2 separate regions of the Homo sapiens genome follow, and region 2 is linked to region 1. Evidence: promoter capture Hi-C in 16 types of primary human blood cells and fetal thymus (Javierre and others, 2016). All regions are on one chromosome and are shown on one strand. The core of a region is centred on a gene start or on the middle of the fragment in contact, and the rest is flanking DNA. Distances in the headings are between cores, read along the strand shown. Region 1 holds the start of RAB6B (RAB6B, member RAS oncogene family). Region 2 overlaps SRPRB (SRP receptor subunit beta).

Region 1 (4,019 bases), core at 1-2,500:
GGTGCCCCTGTATCATTCCCCAAATCGCCTCGAGTTGGGGTAGCCCTCACTGCAATTGCCCAGATCCCTGGGCAGCAAGGAGACTAACAAGCGCCGGCGAAGGGCAGCGGGTCTAGAACCTTCTGTGCCCAGTCGGACGTGAGCCAGGGGAGGTAGGCTCCCCGTTCCCCCATGGCCTGCACTCGCTCTTTCGAGCAGAGACAGGTGTCGCTCTTTTCTCCCCGGTGGCTGTTTGTCCCACGCCCTGGACGTGCCCTTTCGCATGGTTCCCAGCAGGGTCCGCAGGGAACACCCCTCCAGTGCAGCGGAGTGAGGCCCGGCCAGACCCCAGCTTCGCTTCGTTCTCCAAGGGGGGCGCCCGTCGCTCTCCCCACCCCCGCCAGCACCCAGCCACCTGCGCGGTCGCCCGCAGCCGGTGCCGCAGTGTGAGCTAGCCAGCGAGCCCGGTTCCTTCACGCCCTGGCCAGCGCCGCGGAGCCAGCCGCCGCCCTCCGGGCCCCCTGCAGCGCCGCACCTGCACCCACACCCCGGGCCCCCCACCCAGAGCCCACCCTCACCTCCACCCCAGGCTCCAGCGCCTCCTCCGTCCTCACCCTTGGCCCCTCCCCAGCCCGACCCCGCCCCGACCTCCCCATCCCTGTCCCTCTCCTCTACCCTGGCAAGGAGGGGCCTTTCCGAGCCTGGGCCGGGGGTCCCAATGGGGTGGGCGATTGGGCGGCGGGGGTCGACTCGGCGACAAGCCAAGAGATTAAGCCGGGTACTTACCGCTCTGCTCCCCCAAGAACACCAACTTGAATTTTCTCAGTGGATTCCCAAAATCTCCCCCTGCGGACATGGTGCTGGCAGCCGGGGCCGGGAGAGGAGGAGGAGGAAAAAGCGAAGGAGCAGGGAGGGGAGAGTAGGAGGGCGAGGGGAGGCGGCCGGCGGTGCGGGAGCCGGAGGGGGAAGGGCTGGCTGCGCGCGTCCCTGACTCCCCAGCTGCGTCCCGGTCCCGGCCTGCGGCTGCGTGTCCGGCGGCGGAGGAGGAGGAGGAGAGAGAGGCGGAGGCGGAGGAAGGCTGGGGCTGGGCTGCTGCGGTCGGCACTGGCTGCGGTGCGAGGGGCGCGCTCTTTACGCCCGAGGCGCGGCGCTGGGAGAGAGGCGCGGGCGGAGCGGGGCGCAGGGACGGCGCGCGGGGCGGAGGAGCGCTCTCCAGAGCCGCGCCAGTCGGCCCCCTCCCGCCTGCCTCCTCCGCCGGCGCCTGCGCTCTGTGCGCTCCCCAGCCTCTGATGTCATGCGGGGCCCGCGGGGCTGCGGGGCTGGGGGGCGTGCGCCCGCCCACCCGAGCCCGCACCCGGGCAGGAGAGAACCTCCTCGCCGTACCCCTGAGAGCCCCCCGGGGGGGACCGTGTCTCGCTGCCCCGCTGCGTCTGTCTTCCCCACTCTACCCCTCTTTTGAATCCAGAAAATGACAGAAATTGTCAGGGGACATTTGTTTCTGGTCTTTTAAACCTAGATGCCAGTCCCTTCCTCCACCTCGCGAGACACCGATGCACAGCGCAGTCGTCCGACCGACAGGGCGGAAAGGAACGAAGGTGGGGGAGAGCCAGGGTGTGGCGAGGCCCGTCAGGGCGGTCAGACCTAGGGAAACCTGGCGTACTTGGCGCAGATGGGGCTCGACTCTTGCCCCCCGTGGCTTCTAGCCCGCCCTTCCCTCTCGAGGCCTAGACCCTTTATTTGGGCGGCCTCTTGTGGAGTCTGTGGGTGCCCCCGCAGACCTGGCCAGCGAGAGAGGAGCTGCCAATATCAGGCGCGCCTACCTCAAACCAGCTGCTCATTTGGATCATTTTATGCCAAATCCTAACCTGCCCCATGGGAGAGAAGGAACGGTGACGCTCTGAATGCCAGTGCCACTATCTCCAGGACAGTGCCCTGCGTTTCTTGATCCCGGGGTCGCCAGGCTGACAATGCCACTCCCCACCCTGGCAATTAGGTGTATCTGGACAATGAGCTATCTGAGGACATGTGGGCGACCTCTCCTTGGCCTCTACTTGCCTGGTCCATCGAGGCACACAGACCAAGTTGTGAGTGAGTGAGAGCAAAGAGCAGACGCCAAGTGCTAGAAACACTCCCAAGACAGCCCGAGCCTAAGGCATGCTGGTTAATTGAGGTTTTACAAAGCTGTCCCTTACTGTTCTGCCACAGCGTGGTCTTGTTCATTTATGGCTGTTCAGTGAGCATTTATTTGAGATAATAATCTGCATGTCGGTGAACACGATGGTGTGTGCACGCATGTGTTATAGAAAGAGAAAGAGGAGTGAGACACAACCTTCACCTCCAGATTTCTCGTGGACACTTGTTACCCCCTTTTTGACTTATGGGGCTTGCTTGGGCAAGCCTATCTGTCTCCCTGGTGTGCTCACCTCGAATCTCTTTCCTATTTCTTGTTAGAAACCTGACCACAAGTTCCATAAAAGCAGTAGTTGAAGCTCCACCACTGCATCCCAAGGACATAGCTCAGAGTTTAAGAAATAGTTGTTGAATGTTTGAATGAACATCTAGAACTCAAATCAAAATAACTGTCCTATTCTCATAATTACCTTTAGTTTGGAACCCCAGGGATTGTAAGTCATCACCTAGAATATCTGCCCCGTTGTGGCTGGCACCAGGCTCAGGGTAACCCTCCAGACACCCACCCACTTCTCTGGGGCTCCTGCTCTCTTAGGAGACCATATCCAGCTTGGGGTTGAAGAAAGCTCTGAAAGGAGAGGAGACTCCCAAGTCACAGCCCTTCCCGTCTCTATAAGTGATCCCTCCAAAGAAGGGCCAGTGAGCTACTGGCCAAGGTACCCAGCCATGCAACACTCCTCCAACCTGCACCTTCTCCTAACATCTAGTGCTGTCTCCCTGTACCCTCTCATCCTGACCTGATGAGATCATCGGTGGCAAGACAAAACAGCTGAGGTGTGCCAGAAAAGGCACCATCTTTTGGGTAAGCCTAGGCAGGTCCTGTACCTCCTCTGATCATCTGGTCCCGCACATGTAAGGTGGTATGGCAGTAGGGGAGGGAGGGCTGGGGCAGGGCCCCTCTGGGCACCTCTAAGCCTCCAAGTCATCCCATATGCTTACCAGGTCCAGCTGGGCTGACTATGGTCCAGCTTACTTTGGGGGACTCTGTCATAATTCTTCCAGTTCAAATGACAAAAACCCGGCTCCGACTACCGGGCTCACGTCGCTGGAGCAGATACTGGCATTGCTCTCAGAATGCAGTCATCATGCTGTGGAAATGAGAGCCTTAGAGACTCCAAGTTTGCTCTGCTCCAAGTCTCTCTCCTCCAACTATCATTGCTTATCTCCCCTGATTTTGAGTCTTGTCCTTAACCTGCCCTAAAGCAGACAGACTTTCTCCAGGTGGAAAATGGGGCCACTGAACCTCAGCCTGGCAACCTCACTAGAAAGAGTTTCTTCCATATCATAGAATCTGTGCATTCCATTTAAAAAAATTCTTTAAATCTTCCTATTTAGTATGTGCTGTGTATATGTAAGTTACAAAGAAAACCTATCACTCTGAGTGCCCATTTACCCTCTACACAGCTGGAGGGCTCAAATATTATAGTACTTTTCAGGCCCCCAGGTGCTTTCTTCTCCTTCCTCCCTCCCCAACTTGGAAATCCAGAATCTTAGCTTTTCTTTGAGTTTTATCACATTGGATGTGTCCTTCACAATACTTTGTTTTGTTTTGCATCTTTTGAATCTTATATAAGGTATCAAACTGTGTTTTCTGTCCTGACTTGCATGTTTCTTAACATCATGTTTCTGAGATCCATTTGTTAATTCATGTAGCAGCAGTTCTTTCATTTTCACTGCTGGTTAGTATTCTAGTTATGCCCCAATTTTTAAATGATTTTCTGTAAAATGTGTCATTTAAAATTTTTATTTTATTTTATTTTATTATTGTTGTTATTATTTTTGAGATGGAGTCTTGGTCTGTCACCAGGCTGGAGTGTAGCGGCGCCATCTCGGCTCACTGTAACCTCCGC
Region 2 (4,442 bases), core at 1-2,500, 84 kb before region 1:
GTGTTCTCATTTTATATTTATGTGTAATTTTACATTATGTTCACCTTTCTCATAAATTTTGCCAGATCAGGAACCGTGTCTTTGGCCACTGTTACATCCCCAGAACGTTGACTAGTGTTTTATGAGTAGAAGATGCTTTGTGAACATTTGTTTGGTTAATTAGGTACCAGTTTGGTAGCCAATATATGATACTAAAGGTTTATATTGTGAACGTGGAACTGTATTGAAACGTTAATGTTATTGCTGCCATCCCCAGGGCAATAGTCTGACCTTGATTGACCTTCCCGGCCATGAGAGTTTGAGGCTTCAGTTCTTAGAGCGGTTTAAGTCTTCAGCCAGGTAAGAAGGAAAGAAGTGAAGTGGGCTTGTCTAGGTCTGTATCTGTATATCAAAGCCACTCATGTGATTTGCTCTGGTGGTGTTTGGGAGGCAGCATGGTATCCTGTGGTAGACCTTGAGGTGACCTTGGGGTCAGCCAGTTCTGGGTTGCAAGTCCACCTTCACCTGGATGATGAGGATTTTATGGGATTAAAATGCTTAAAAAGTGTTTTTTAGTGTTTAGGAAATGTTAACCCTTCTTGTCATTGTTACTAAATGTTTGCATTTATTCTGAAGGTGAATTTAATAATGTATATGACTATTAAAATCTGAAAAAAGAATTTTAAAGCTGGGATGAATCCTAGCAGTTTTTAAATGCCAACATCATTTATATATATAGTGTTTTTTTGTTTTTTTTTTTTGAGATGGAGTCTCACTCTGTTGTCCTGGCTGGAGTGCAGTGGTGTGATCTCGGCTCACTGCAACCTCCACCTCCTGGGTTCAAGTGATTCTCCTGCCTCAGCCTCCTGAGTAGCTGGGATTACAGGCACGCACCACCACACCCTGCTAATTTTTCATAATTTTAGTAGAGATGGGGTTTCACCATGTTGGCCAGGCTTGTCTCGAACTCCTGACCTCATGATCCGCTGGCCTCAGCCTCCCAAAGTGCTGGAATTACAGGCGTGAGCCACTGCACCTGGCCCATATATATTCTCAAATTACGTAAAATTGATGTTTCAAGAAGTACAGAACAATATTTCCATATTTCTTTTAGTGTGTGCTCTGGTGTTACTGACTCTTAAGTTCTTCCCTAAAAAGTCTTATGCTGCAGTTTCAGATGCTTCTTTTTTGGTCTCTAACATTAATAAGAACTGAAGAGGAAAATCAGTATGCCACATTTCACTGATTTGAAGACACATTTTAATATCTCTGAATTTAGAATATATCTTATAGTTGATGGTGTCATAGTTTAATTGGCAGTATTTTCTCTTAGCGGTCCCTAAAATAATGTCTTTAATTGGCAGCATTTTAGTTTTGATGGAATGAAGTAGTAGATTCTTTGCCTTTTATTGAAGATGTCTAGACTGAAATTTCATTATTGCATCTTTGCCCACAAGATGGTGGTGATGAACAATTTGTCACAGATAAGAAAATTCCTTGGACAATTGAGACAAATCTAGAGCTGGTAAATTTTGCCATAATTGGGTTTTTATTTCCAATTAAATGTTTTTTCTTTTTCTATTGCCAGTTCTAAATATTTTATGATTTGCAGTATAACTACTCTGTGATTCATGTATTTTGGGTAAATAAAACATGCAAAATATGAAGATAAAACTTAGTTCAAATAAATTATAATCATGATAACATGCAAGTTGAAAAGACATTTACTATATTGGTATGTGACTTTTTTTTAATCCTACTTTCTGGCTTCGCCAAGTTTCCCTAGTGGCTATTTTCCCTCTCCTGATTTGAACATATGCTGTTGCTGTTCTTATCATGGTTCCCCTCCCCCATCTTTTAAACATTGCCTATTTGATTGTCTGAATCCAATAATATCAGTTTCCTTTTCCTGAACCTTAAACACTTTAACTTTCATCTTCCTCACATCTTCCTTTTATTTATGCTCCTTTTTAACCCCCATCCATACTTTTTTTTCCTCTTACATTCAGTGATGAGAATTACCAGGATGCTTATGGTCTTTTGCTCCCCATTGCTTCTTGAATTTTACTTCTTCCCTTTAGATTCAGTTTTCCCTCACTGAGTATATCTTTTAGAAGTGTTTCCAGAGAGGGTGATGAGTAGTCAAATGTTTTCAGTCTTTGTTCATTTGTAACTCTATTTGGCCAGCATTTTGGAATGTCTCTTTTAGCTGAGTGCAGAGTCCTGGGTGGCAGCCGCATCACTCCTGACCTCATCCATCTGTTGCAGATGAGAATGTTTTTGCCAGTCAGTCTAATTGTCATTTCACTGTAGTAAGTCTGCCTGATTTGACCTTCTATCCAGGGATAGATTTTCTTCTGTTCAAGGATGGATTTAGCTTTATCATTCTTGGAATTCAGTTGTGCTATTCCAAACCAAAGATTCTCCTCAGTTTTGGAAAATTCTCACCATCGTTTCTCCAGGTAGTGCTGTTTCCCCATGATCATTTCTCACACTCTGGAATTCTTATGAATGTTATTGAACCTTATTATTTTTGCCTTTCTTGTTTCCTCTCTATCGTATCTTCCAGATCTTTCTACTTCGCATATTGTAAGATTCCCTCAGATTTGTTTTCTAGTTTATTACATTATTTTCAGCTGAGCATGATCTCTGCTTAACTTTTCCATTGATTTATTAATATCATTTACTATATTTGTCTAAAATACTTACCTTTTCAAACCAGCCTGTTTCTTTTTATACTATTCTATTTTTTATTGTAGTTTGTAGTATTTTCTTAAATAATTTTAAACATTTACTTTATAGATAGCTTTATTATCTTAGTTTTGGGGTGCTGATTATTCTCTTTGGGGTACCAGTTATTCTCCCTCATAATTATTTTATTCTGTGCCTTGTAATTTTTGCTCCAGAACCTTTCTTCAAGAGTGACACATCATTGATATTGTGGTGGTTCTTTAATCCCGTAGGATATGAAAGCCTTGCTCCATAAGCGGTTCATAGTTCCTTCTGTTGGGGCCATAGGGCTTCAATAAGTCTGGCCCAATTTTTATGTAAGCCTTTCCCCTTGGGGGTCTTACACCTGGAGAGAGTATAAATTCATACCCTATATCTGTGTGAGGCAGTGGAGGCCCGCTGTTTCTAAGGGAACTTTTTTTGCAAGCCCCGACCTCCCTGAGACTATTTTAAGTTGTAGGCTTTGTGCAGGGCATTCAGTTCTAGCTCCCCAGCTGCATGTTGGCCATTGCATGTCTCTTATCTCCACCTGGGCATTCAAACCCTTGTCCATAAGGCTTGTATTTTTTTTTTTTTTTTTGAGACGGAGTCTCGCTCTGTTGCCCAGGCTGGAGTGCAGTGGCGCGATCTTGGCTCGCTGCAAGCTCTGCCTCCCAGGTTTACGCCATTCTCCTGCCTCAGTCCCCTGAGTAGCTGGGACAACAGGCACCCGCCATCACACCAAGCTAATTTTTTGTATTTTTAGGAGAGACAGGGTTTCGCCGTGTTAGCCAGGATGGTCTCGATCTCCTGACCTCGTGATCCGCCCGCCTCGGCTTCCCAAAGTGCTGGGATTACAGGCGTGAGCCACCGCGCCTGGCCGGTTTTTTTGTTTTTTTGTTTTCTTTGAGATGGAGTTTCGCTTTGTCACCCAGGCTGGAGTGCAGTGGCATGATCTCAGTTCACTGCAACCTTCGCCTTCTGGGTTCAAGTAACTCTTCTGCCTCAGACTCTCAAGTAGCTGGGATTACAGGCTCCCGCCACCATATCTGGCTAATTGTTATATTTTTAGTAGAGATTGGGTTTCATCATGTTGCCCAGACTTGTCTCGAACTCCTGACCTCAAGTGATCTGCCTGTCTCGGCCCCCCAAAGTGCTGGGATTACAGGCGTGAGCCACCGCACCCGGCCCCCTAAGACCTGTTGTCTGCAGTTTCCCTGGGCTGCTGCACTTTAGCTTTGATATCTCTTTGTTTCTGTCACATGAGGAGTCCCACTATGGCTGCCTTAGTTCAGGCCCTACCTGGTCACTGTGCTTCTAGTTCAAGCGCCCTCTAAGATTGCTTTGTCTTCCATTTAGGCACCAATATTCTTCATAAGACAGAAAAGCATGAACTCCACAGGTCATTGTGTCACGCCTCACTGTCTGACTTGGTTCTCCTTCATTTCCCCATCTCCCTGTGTACCAGCTTACCTTGACTTCCCCAGGGAATGTGTTTCACGTATTTGTGGCTTGAACATACTGTAGGCTGAGTATCCCTTATCCAAAATGCTTGGAACCAGAAGTGTTTTGGATTTTAGACTTTGGATTTTTGGATTGGGGATACTCAACCTGTACTTTCCAGACAGCCTGTGCCCCAATTTTTGGTCTAGCTAAGATTCAACTCAACTGTTACATTCTCCTTAAAGTTGCCTTTGACCTGGTCTCATTTAAATGATCTTTCTCTTTATTCCTGTTACACATGTGCATAGTTT

What was found. Contacts are between HindIII fragments. The CHiCAGO score rates a contact against its expected background, and 5 or more counts as called.
Region 2: a contact is called between a fragment that was not itself captured here and the fragment with the promoter of RAB6B in region 1, in 1 of 17 cell types (erythroblasts). The highest score is 5.4, in erythroblasts.

What each region holds. Positions count from the first base shown.
Region 1 is chr3:133,894,632-133,898,650 of GRCh38, forward strand. It overlaps RAB6B (RAB6B, member RAS oncogene family), which reads right to left and starts at 1,251. Exons shown (of 8, transcript NM_016577.4): 1 at 766-1,251. The coding sequence starts at 835. RefSeq lists a silencer at 1,221-1,270. The HindIII fragment of the contact is 7,968 bases long and covers 1-4,019 here.
Region 2 is chr3:133,810,861-133,815,302 of GRCh38, forward strand. It overlaps SRPRB (SRP receptor subunit beta), which reads left to right. Exons shown (of 7, transcript NM_001379313.1): 4 at 257-339. Among named protein-coding and RNA genes, the nearest start is that of SRPRB, 7.3 kb to the left of the region's middle. The HindIII fragment of the contact is 9,216 bases long and covers 1-4,442 here.